Regions from separate parts of the Homo sapiens genome. Here all the other regions are linked to region 2. The links are contacts of gene promoters, found by promoter capture Hi-C in blood cells and fetal thymus (Javierre and others, 2016). All regions are on one chromosome and are shown on one strand. Each heading gives the region's core, a stretch centred on a gene start or on the middle of the fragment in contact. The rest is flanking DNA. Distances are from core to core; before and after follow the strand shown.

Region 1 (2,880 bases), core at 154-2,653, 670 kb before region 2:
TGGAAGCTTCAAGAGAGAAGTTTCTTTCCATTTAATGCACTGGGGATGGTGCTCAACAGAGAACCACACTCAAATCGGGGCTAAATAATATGGCAATATCATGGTTACAAAAGAAACACCTCCCTTTCTCACCAAATCACTGAATCCCTTATTCTATAAAAATGAAATTGAACTGCAAACATCACCACCATGACAAGAGGATTTAGGCACACTGATCAACTGATTAAATTCTATTTGTCATCCAGAGTGATCCTGGAGGCCTTCAGAGCCTGGAGGAAACCTCTCTGTGACTCTACTCACATCTTTACACACGGAAAATCCAATTAGGCTGAGTATCTACAGCAGCTTCCAGAAGTAAACTGATTGCAGAAGGGCAGCCTGCTGCCTGAGGACTGCAGGGGACGAGGAAGGGGTGGGCCACCTGGAAGGGACCTCTGCCTTCTCAGCACCTAGAGTTGGTTTCCAGATGATCACATAGTTTAACCCTTTTCTTTTATAGACAAGGAAATTGAGGCCCAGAAAGGTTAACAGTCTTGCCCAAGACCTAAGATTAGAAGGCAGAGTTGGGGTTGAGAATTGCTTATGTGAGACTCAGACCCAAAGCAGACGACCATATTTTCAAATTCAGTGAAAACTGGAAAACTCGTATGGGCCTACCCAGCCTGGAAAATCCCCATGTATTACCAATACATAGTAAACGAATCAAAGATTGAAAAGTTTACTTGAAAACCAATCAGAAGTCCTCTCCCACATGCAAAAATCCCACCCTAATAGAACACTCATCACCCGTCAGACTGTCTTAACACTTCTTCCTTTTTCTTTCTTTGCAAACCCCTTTGAGCCTGTGCCAGAAGTGACGGTGTCTGCCACCCTCTCTGCAGTCAGTCCTGACCAGTTCTCTGGGGTTTACACCTGTCCTCTGGCCACTCGTCTGCTGCACTTCCTGCATCTGCTTGTTTCACCTTGGCCCCAGCTTTACCTGAGGGGTGCTTGGCCTGTGCCTTGAGTTCCAGGGCCTATGTTTACTTCAAAAATATTAATGTCAATTCCTTCAACTTGTTCCAAAGACAACAGAGCCTCTCACAAGCAGGCAAGCCCTGCCACTTGTTACGTAGTTGAGGCTGACGAGCCTGCAGGTCCCAGCCAACTTTATCACCTCCCTCTTCTGAGGGGTGGAAGTCCCCAACATCTCAGGGTCCCCTGAGAGTATGGGGATTCCCACATCGGCAAGTACCTGCTTCAGAGAAGCCCATGAGAAACTGGCCCAGAGCAAGCGGGTCCACCCTCCCATTGTGGGAAAGTGAAGGGCAGAAGGAGTCTGGCTGGAGGTCACTCCTGCCACTGATCTTCCTCACTCGGGTCCAGCCTGTCAGAGGATAAAGCACAGTGGTGGGTGGGGGTATCTGGCTCTCCCCCACCCTCCTTCTCAGGGGTTCAGTAGTCCCTGGGAACAAGATTCAGCTCAGGAATTTCTGGGATGCTGGTCAGTTCTGGCCCTAAGGACACTGGGAGTGACAGCGGGCTGCTAAGGATGTGACAGTGACTGGGCTGTTCCCTTCACATGACTACCAGGGCAAGCCCTGGCCAAATCCCAGCACCTGCTGAAAGTTGAAGCTGACCACTGGAGTGATTAGATTCATGACATGTGGTGGAGGCCTGGGGAGTGGAGCTACTGGGAAAGGACACAGCTAAGGAATCTCCTCCCTCCCAGCATTGCTTGACCCTTTCACAAAGACAGTGGTAGGTAGAGGAAGAAGGAGAATTGGCCTACTCCTTCCTTTTCGCTGTATATGGTCATAGAAATTGTCAGAACTTTATATCTAGATTCAAGTTCTATCTCTAGCACAATTAGCTCTAAAACTTTGCGAACGTTACTTAACCTCCTAGGTCCTCTTTGTTCATAAAACGAGAACGTAATACATACCTTGGTTGGCTGTGAAAGTTATATGAGTCAGTGTTGTGGGGAAGTTGAAGGCATGCAGTAGATGCACAAGGAAAATTAAATTCCGTTCCCCAGTTCCTGGCTTGCAAGTTGGGGGTTAAACTCAGTTAAGCTCAGAGAAGACATGACATGACGGGGGATCAAGGGAGATGTGGGAAGCTCACGGGCTGTGGTTCCCACTGATCCACATTAGACTCCAAATGACAACACCCTCACAATCCCATGAAATTGAGCAGAATTTCTCTTCTTTCTTGTGATGTTTCCAGAAATGAAGAGAGAGGGAAGGAAGACACAGACTCTGATCTTTGGCTTCACTTTGGTTCCAAGACCTGGAGCTGATAGTGTATGGAGGGTTGCCTGTTTGTCCAGGCACTATGAATAAGACCAAGGTAATCCAGCCCAACTCTACGACACAGCTAAGCCAACAAGCAGCTGGATCTTGTGTCTCAGCACTCACAGAAATGTATAAATCATCTGATACCAACTGCTCCCCGGAAGCCTCTGTCTCCAGAATATAAATGTCCAACTACAGGACTGGCAAAGAAACCAAGCCCTGGGCAATGCCTACTATGGACCCTTATTTCTTGTGGTTTGCTAAGAAAAAAGTAGGCCCAAGGGAGAGGAGGGGGAAAACCAGGAGGGTCTAAAGTTCTTCTGACTGAAAGAAAAGACCACATCAGAGAGAAAGAAAGGAATCAGTTAAGTAATAAAAGGTTGTGAGTTGATTTATCATTCAACTAAACAAATTATCTTCCTACACAAACATTCTGAGGATTAAGTGAACAATATAATACTTTTCTGAGCTCTTTTTGATCAAATGCTTTGCTGTTAAAGGTTATATTCCTAGGGAGTTGATACTGAAGCTTCTTGTTCCTTGTCAGTAAACACAAGGAGAGGCCAACCCTCTGTAAATTTAAATTACATAAAACCTTTCCCCA
Region 2 (3,056 bases), core at 117-2,616:
GGTTGGGCACGTAGCCAGGTATTGGAGGAGGCGGGGCTACCAGAGAAAGGGCTTAAAATTACGGAGTTGGGATTCATGGAGGTGTGGCCTTAAGGTGTCTAGGGTCAGCATGAGATGACAAGGAGTGCAGCCTCAGGCAGGGCTGAGAGTCTGTGAAAGTCCCTCCCCACAAGGGGGAGCCCCACTCTCCAGGCCCTGTCTCCAGCCCACGCTGCCAGTGCAGTCCTTGAAGGGGGACTGGGCTCGTGAGACAGGAGTTGGGAGCCAGAGCTGAAGGAAGAGGATACAGGGTGGGGGACAGGGGGAGGTGACCGGGGAGAGAGGTCCACCCAGAGGCTAGAGACAGATAATGACTGACGGCTAGACTGACTCAGGGACTGTCCGGCAGAGAAATGACTGGATGAGAGACAGAAACAGAACAGTGGCAAGAGACAGAATGAGAGAGACCAGGGCAGCAGCCTGGGTGTCTGAAGGCAGAGAGGAGTCCTAGGGGCCAGGCTTGGAAACGGGTCACCGGGGGCAGTTCCGGGCAGGCAGGGGCAGACCTCAGCTTCGGGGGTGTCAAGCCAGGCCTCGGGAACTTAATTCTGGGAGAAGGAGCAGACAGGAGGGGTGGAGGCAGGGAGGGGCCACGGGAAGGGAGCTAGAGAGGAGACCCTTCCCACTGCTCTCCTTTCTCCTAGGGGCGGGGGGGAGGACCCCTCAGGTAGCTGTGGCTTCTGCCCCTCCTCCCTCAGAGCAGACACACACCTGACAGTCCCTTTGCTCCCGAGGGAAGGGGGAAACCGGAGGAAGGCTGGGGACCAGAGAGAAGGCGGGATGAGGAGGCGAGAAGGAAGGGGATAGAGGAGTGGGAAACAGGATAGCAGGAAGGGGAGAGGAGAGGGAGGGAAAGGAGAGCAAGAAAGAGAAAAGAGAAAGGCAGGAAAGGGGAGAAAGGTAGAGAAAGAAAAAGGCAAAGAGGGAGAGGAGATGGAAAAAGGACAAGAGGGAGAGGGAAGGGTTGGGGAGACAGAGGGAAGGGATAAGGAAGGCAAACAGGCAGAGAAGGAAGGGTGAAGAGAAATCGAGAGAAGAAAGAGGGAGAGAGGTGCGAGGGGAGAAGGGAAAGAGGCAGAGCGCGGGAGAAGGGAGCCGGCAGCGGGCTCCCAGCCACGGAGCGCACCCCTCCGAAGACCCCCGCAGGCTGCGGGCCCCCTCCTACCCCTCCGCGGATTCCCGACCCCTGCTCCGGGGCAGGCGCCCTTACCTGGCACTGCCGAGGGGCCCAGGCCGGCGGGAAGCGCCCCCGCCCGCCCCCGTCGCCGGGTCCCGGGGGCACAGCCCCGAGCCGATTGGAGCGGGCGCCGCGGCTCCGCTGCAGGTCTGAGCGGCCCCGGCGAGAACAAGGGAGCGAGACGGAGGGGGCGGGGGAAGAAGACTCCGCCTGCGGAGGAGCGAGGCGGCTCCGCGCCGCGCGGGAGAGGAGAGCCCAGCCTCCGACCCTCCCCGGCCAGCCGGGCCCGCGCGGCGGGGGCGGGGGCGGAGGCGGCGCCGCGCGTCCGCCCCCTCGGCGCTCCTGGGCTGCGGGGCGCATACAGATGCGGCGCCCCTCCCGGACCGGGCCCGCAGCGCCCGGCAGGGCACTCGGGCGGGAGGACGTCCAGGCCACGGCGCCAGGCCATTTCCGAAGAGCTGGCGGGGCGGGTGCACCCGGGAGCGCGAAGCTGCCAGTCCCCGCCCGCAGCGGAAAACGGGCGAGCGCGCGGTGAGGTGGGGAATTCGGAGCCCACTGCGGAGAGACCCGGCTCCGGGCTCCCGGTTCCCGGCTGGCTTTTGGGACTGGTGTGGATGGAATCCCAGCTGCAAGGCGGCGGCGTTTTGAGAGCCCATGCAAAGCACGGTAGCAGGTCAGCTGGGGGACACTTAAGGACGGCAGAAGGGTCCAGAGAGTCCGAGGCCCGGGCCCAGGGAGCGGGTCGGGAACAGAGGCACGACATCGGCGGGAGGTCGGAGGCGGGCAGTGGAACCCTTCTTGGGAAGCTCGGTTACAGGGGCCAACAGAGCGAGGAGCTGCCGCCCCCTGGTGGTAGTTGTGGGAGGCACCAAGGTGGCAGGCAGGTGACCAAACCCCTAATTTAACCGTGCACAGGACCAGGAACCAGAAGAGGACCCACCCTCCTAGCCCTGCTGGGGTGCCGCCACGGACACAGGTTGCTCCATGCCTTCCCGAATGAGGAAGGTCCACAGCTTTGGGTTGGTCAGGGCCAAGGCAGGGGATAAAAGACGTGGGAAGTTCAATAAGCAGGAAGCAGTCAGCCTAAAGGAACACATGGAATGAGAGCAACTCCTACTCCAGATATCCTCAGATGTCCACGCTCAGATATCCACAGTGGCTTCTTAACCTGCCCAAAGAAAGCCACTCACACAGTTTAAAACTAAGTCAGATTTTTATTTTTTTTTCCATAGACCACATCATTTAATAATAAAAAAAATAAAAATAAAAATTGAACAAAAGGAAAAGGTGGATATAAAGTGGAACCTGTGGGAAAGAGGCAAGGGCTGCAGGACAGAAGAGACTGGGAACTGCAGGGGCCCTGGGACTCAGGAGGAGATGCTGATTCAGCTCATAGGTGACCCAGTCCTGGCCCCGGCTGTTCCCAAGAGAAGGCTGTAAGTACCCAGGGAGGTGGTAAGCAGGATGGAGGAAAAATCAGAGGACTGGGGCACCTGGCTGTTCCCCATCTCTGGCCAACCACCTCCTTGCCTAACCTAGCTCTTGCCTCTCAGACTTAATGGGAAATGAGAGGGAGGGTCGGGCTAAGTCCCAAGAGATAGGTTAAGGGGGTGTGTTTGGGGGGAAAAGGATGGCCACTTTTCCATTTGGTATGTATGTAGGGATAGGTGATGTGAAAGACCCTTGGCTCCAGGGTGGTGGAGACTGTGCCTATCCCTCTGTGGCCATAACCCCCTGGGGCCGAGTGGCTGGTACCTGCAGCTCTAGTGTTTTCCCAGCTAGCGGCGCCCACCCCGGTCCCGCACAGGTGTGCTCCGACTCCGGCTTCTGCTGTGGCGCT
Region 3 (2,799 bases), core at 197-2,696, 510 kb before region 2:
CTGCACAGTTGCATAGGTGTTCAACAATTGCCAAAATAAAATGAAGCTATTTCGTGATGATTAGAAAGAAATAATCAGCATCAATGAGGCCTCTGATGCATCTTCAGGAGTGAGTAGGTGGAATGAAGACCTGGTAGGTGAGACTTTTCTCTCTTGTCAGAGAAAGTTTGACTTGGGGGAGCCTGGAAAACAGGGACAGGAGATGGAGTGCCCCAGCCAGGCATGCCCTGCCCAGGTCAGAGTTCTTGTAAAGCACCATCTGATTGTGTGTTTTCTGGTGGCTACAATAAGCTGATTTTTGGAGCAGGGACCAGGCTGGCTGTACACCCATGTGAGTATGACCCTGCAAGTGACCAGTGCAAAAAGAACTGACCACTTGTCTATGAGAAAACAGGTGATGATCTATAGCAAACTTGGGGATATATTGAGAAGCACTCATTTTCCATTCCTACAAGCTCTCTTGGTGACTTAAAATGTTCCCATTTCTCATATGAAACACAGAAGTGCCAAGAGCCAATTGCGTAAATGAAAATCTGAGCAGAATAATTTATAGAAACATAAAAAGAGTTCCAAATAATGAGTGCTTTCAAGTGAAGCTGATAATATCGGCACCAGATAATCTGAACATTCAGGAAATTAGCTAAGTGCCCTTGGGGGAAAGAGATGAGTTAATGGCAAACACAAATTCTCTTTTATTGCAGCATGTAGCTAAATTCCCTGGATTGGCTAATAAACATGGTATGGGGATCCCTACTCATAGAATCTTCCTCTCTGGAGTTAGGAGAGTTTTCAGCTTCCTCCTAAGGGTAAAAGTGGCCCAGACCCCTAACTGAACGGCAAGTATACCACATGCAATTACAAGGTATAGAGGCAGCAATGTAGAGGGAGGCCCACAGACCTGGGGAAAATCTGGGCTCTACTCTCACTGGCTGTTTTCAATAAAGCCTCCACTTTCTCAGCAGCAAAATGACTATAACTACATCATAATAATATGAGATAATGGCCAGAATGTAAAAAGTGATCAATAAGTAGTAGCTTTTCTAAAATATTATTATAATTATTATTATTGAGGCTTTGCTTATACTAAGGTTTACACTATCATAAAGGGAAAGGAGAATCGCTTCCTTGGGAAATAAAAGATGTAAGCAACAAAGACCCAAGGAGCCTTTTAGAATGTTGCTCTGGGACCCCAGTGGCTTCCAGCAGATTAGCATCAAGAAGGTTATCTCAAAGACCTTACCCACAGTGGGGGTACAGCAGTGCTTCCAAGATAATCTTTGGATCAGGGACCAGACTCAGCATCCGGCCAAGTAAGTAGAATGAAGCAGGAGAGCAAGGGAGGACGGACAACTATTTCTTCTTTGTCCAAAATGCCAACTTGAACCCAGGTATTTTCCTCTGTGGGCTCCAAAATGGTTTCTTCCACCCATCCCCAGAAAATCCTCCCATCCAGCTCTCGGTGCTCTGCAGACATCATCCTTAGGCTGGGACCTTAGGAACCATGAGGCAGGCAATGAGCGAGTACTCCTGAACCTTCCACAAACATATCCAAGATACTGCTGCCTGGAATTGAGGTTTTTGTTCTAGGGAATTATTGGTTTATTGAAATCATATGAAGTCACAACCTCAGCCCAGGGAATCACAGCAGAATGGAACAGGAGGAGAACTTTTGTATCAGAAGCGAAATTTCAGTGCAAAAGAGCAGAAGGTTTAGGCCTGGCGTGGTGGCTCACGCCTGTAATCCTAGCACTTTGGGAGGCCGAGGCAGGGAGATCACAAGGTCAGGAGATCAAGACCATCCTGGCTAACACAGTGAAACCCTATCTCTACTAAAAATACAAAAATTAGCCGGGCGTGATGGCACGCGCCTGTAGTCTCAGCTACTCGGGAGACTGAGGCAGGAGAATTGTTGAACCCGGGAGGCAGAGATTGCAGTGAGCTGAGATCGCATCATTGCACTCCAGCCTGGGCAACAGAGCAAGACTCCTTCTCAAAAAAACAAAAAAAAAAAAAAAAAAGAAGGTCTAACCCTTAGGAGTGTGATTATCCTGTTCTCCTGCCTTGTGGGGGAGATCAGTGTTTCTCTTATTTAAGTAATAGGTAGGTCCTGTGAGTTTGTGCAATGGTGTCACCTACGGTATGAATACTGGAGGAACAATTGATAAACTCACATTTGGGAAAGGGACCCATGTATTCATTATATCTGGTGAGTCATCCCAGGTGGCACCACGTGCAACCCCATGGGCCAGTGTCACTAATCCTTTCTCTGGAGATATCACTTATTACTATGGTGAGGCTTGCTGTAGATGTTGTAACTAATTTTCTTACAGAGGTCTGGGAAGGGAAAAGCATTACTATCTATCTTGAATATTCATGTTTCTCTAGGTCAAACACATTAAAATTTGACTTTAATCATTCAATGGGTATTGTAAAATGCCTTCTATGTGACTATCACTCTATAAAATGTTAGACTGAGTATGAAGTGTGAGATAGATTCCTGTCCTGTCCTCAAGTGGTATAAAAACTAGACAAAGGTACTGAACTATTGTAAATTAAGCAGCCAGAAAACTATTTTAGTATTGACCAGTTGATGATGTCAATGGACACAATAGAGATTCAGAGGGGATAGGGTGCTGGCTGAGAAGTTGGCCTAGACTGAGAAGTTTCCTGTGGTACAAAGGATTCATTGAGCCCTGAAGGATGGATAAGATCTGTATGGGCAGAGAAAGGAGAGAAGGGAAGTTCTGGGCGTAGGGAACGACAAGAAAGAAGGCATGATCTTGGGAATAATCAAGGCAC

Evidence for each region. Contacts are between HindIII fragments. The CHiCAGO score rates a contact against its expected background, and 5 or more counts as called.
Region 1: a fragment that was not itself captured here is called in contact with the fragment with the promoter of CDH24 in region 2 in 2 of 17 cell types (total B cells and naive B cells); the score reaches 6.5 in total B cells.
Region 3: a contact is called between a fragment that was not itself captured here and the fragment with the promoter of CDH24 in region 2, in 1 of 17 cell types (neutrophils). The highest score is 5.4, in neutrophils.

The regions. Positions count from the first base shown.
Region 1 is chr14:22,382,764-22,385,643 of GRCh38, forward strand. All of the region lies in intron 2 of TRD-AS1 (TRD antisense RNA 1), which reads right to left. It also overlaps TRA. Among named protein-coding and RNA genes, the nearest start is that of TRD-AS1, 99 kb to the right of the region's middle. RefSeq lists an enhancer at 891-1,600. The HindIII fragment of the contact is 2,799 bases long and covers 5-2,803 here.
Region 2 is chr14:23,056,154-23,059,209 of GRCh38, forward strand. CDH24 (cadherin 24) reads right to left here and starts at 1,367. Exons shown (of 13, transcript NM_144985.4): 1 at 1,250-1,367. ACIN1 (apoptotic chromatin condensation inducer 1) reads right to left here. Exons shown (of 19, transcript NM_001386863.1): 19 at 2,411-3,056. The coding sequence ends at 2,995. It overlaps LOC105370705 (collagen alpha-2(I) chain-like), which reads left to right and starts at 1,507. Exons shown (of 2, transcript NR_169511.1): 1 at 1,507-1,889; 2 at 2,132-2,496. RefSeq lists silencers at 1,247-1,366, 1,447-1,596. The HindIII fragment of the contact is 16,339 bases long and covers 1-3,056 here.
Region 3 is chr14:22,541,931-22,544,729 of GRCh38, forward strand. It overlaps TRA, TRAJ4, TRAJ3 and TRAJ2. Among named protein-coding and RNA genes, the nearest start is that of LINC02332, 14 kb to the right of the region's middle. The HindIII fragment of the contact is 3,702 bases long and covers 1-2,799 here.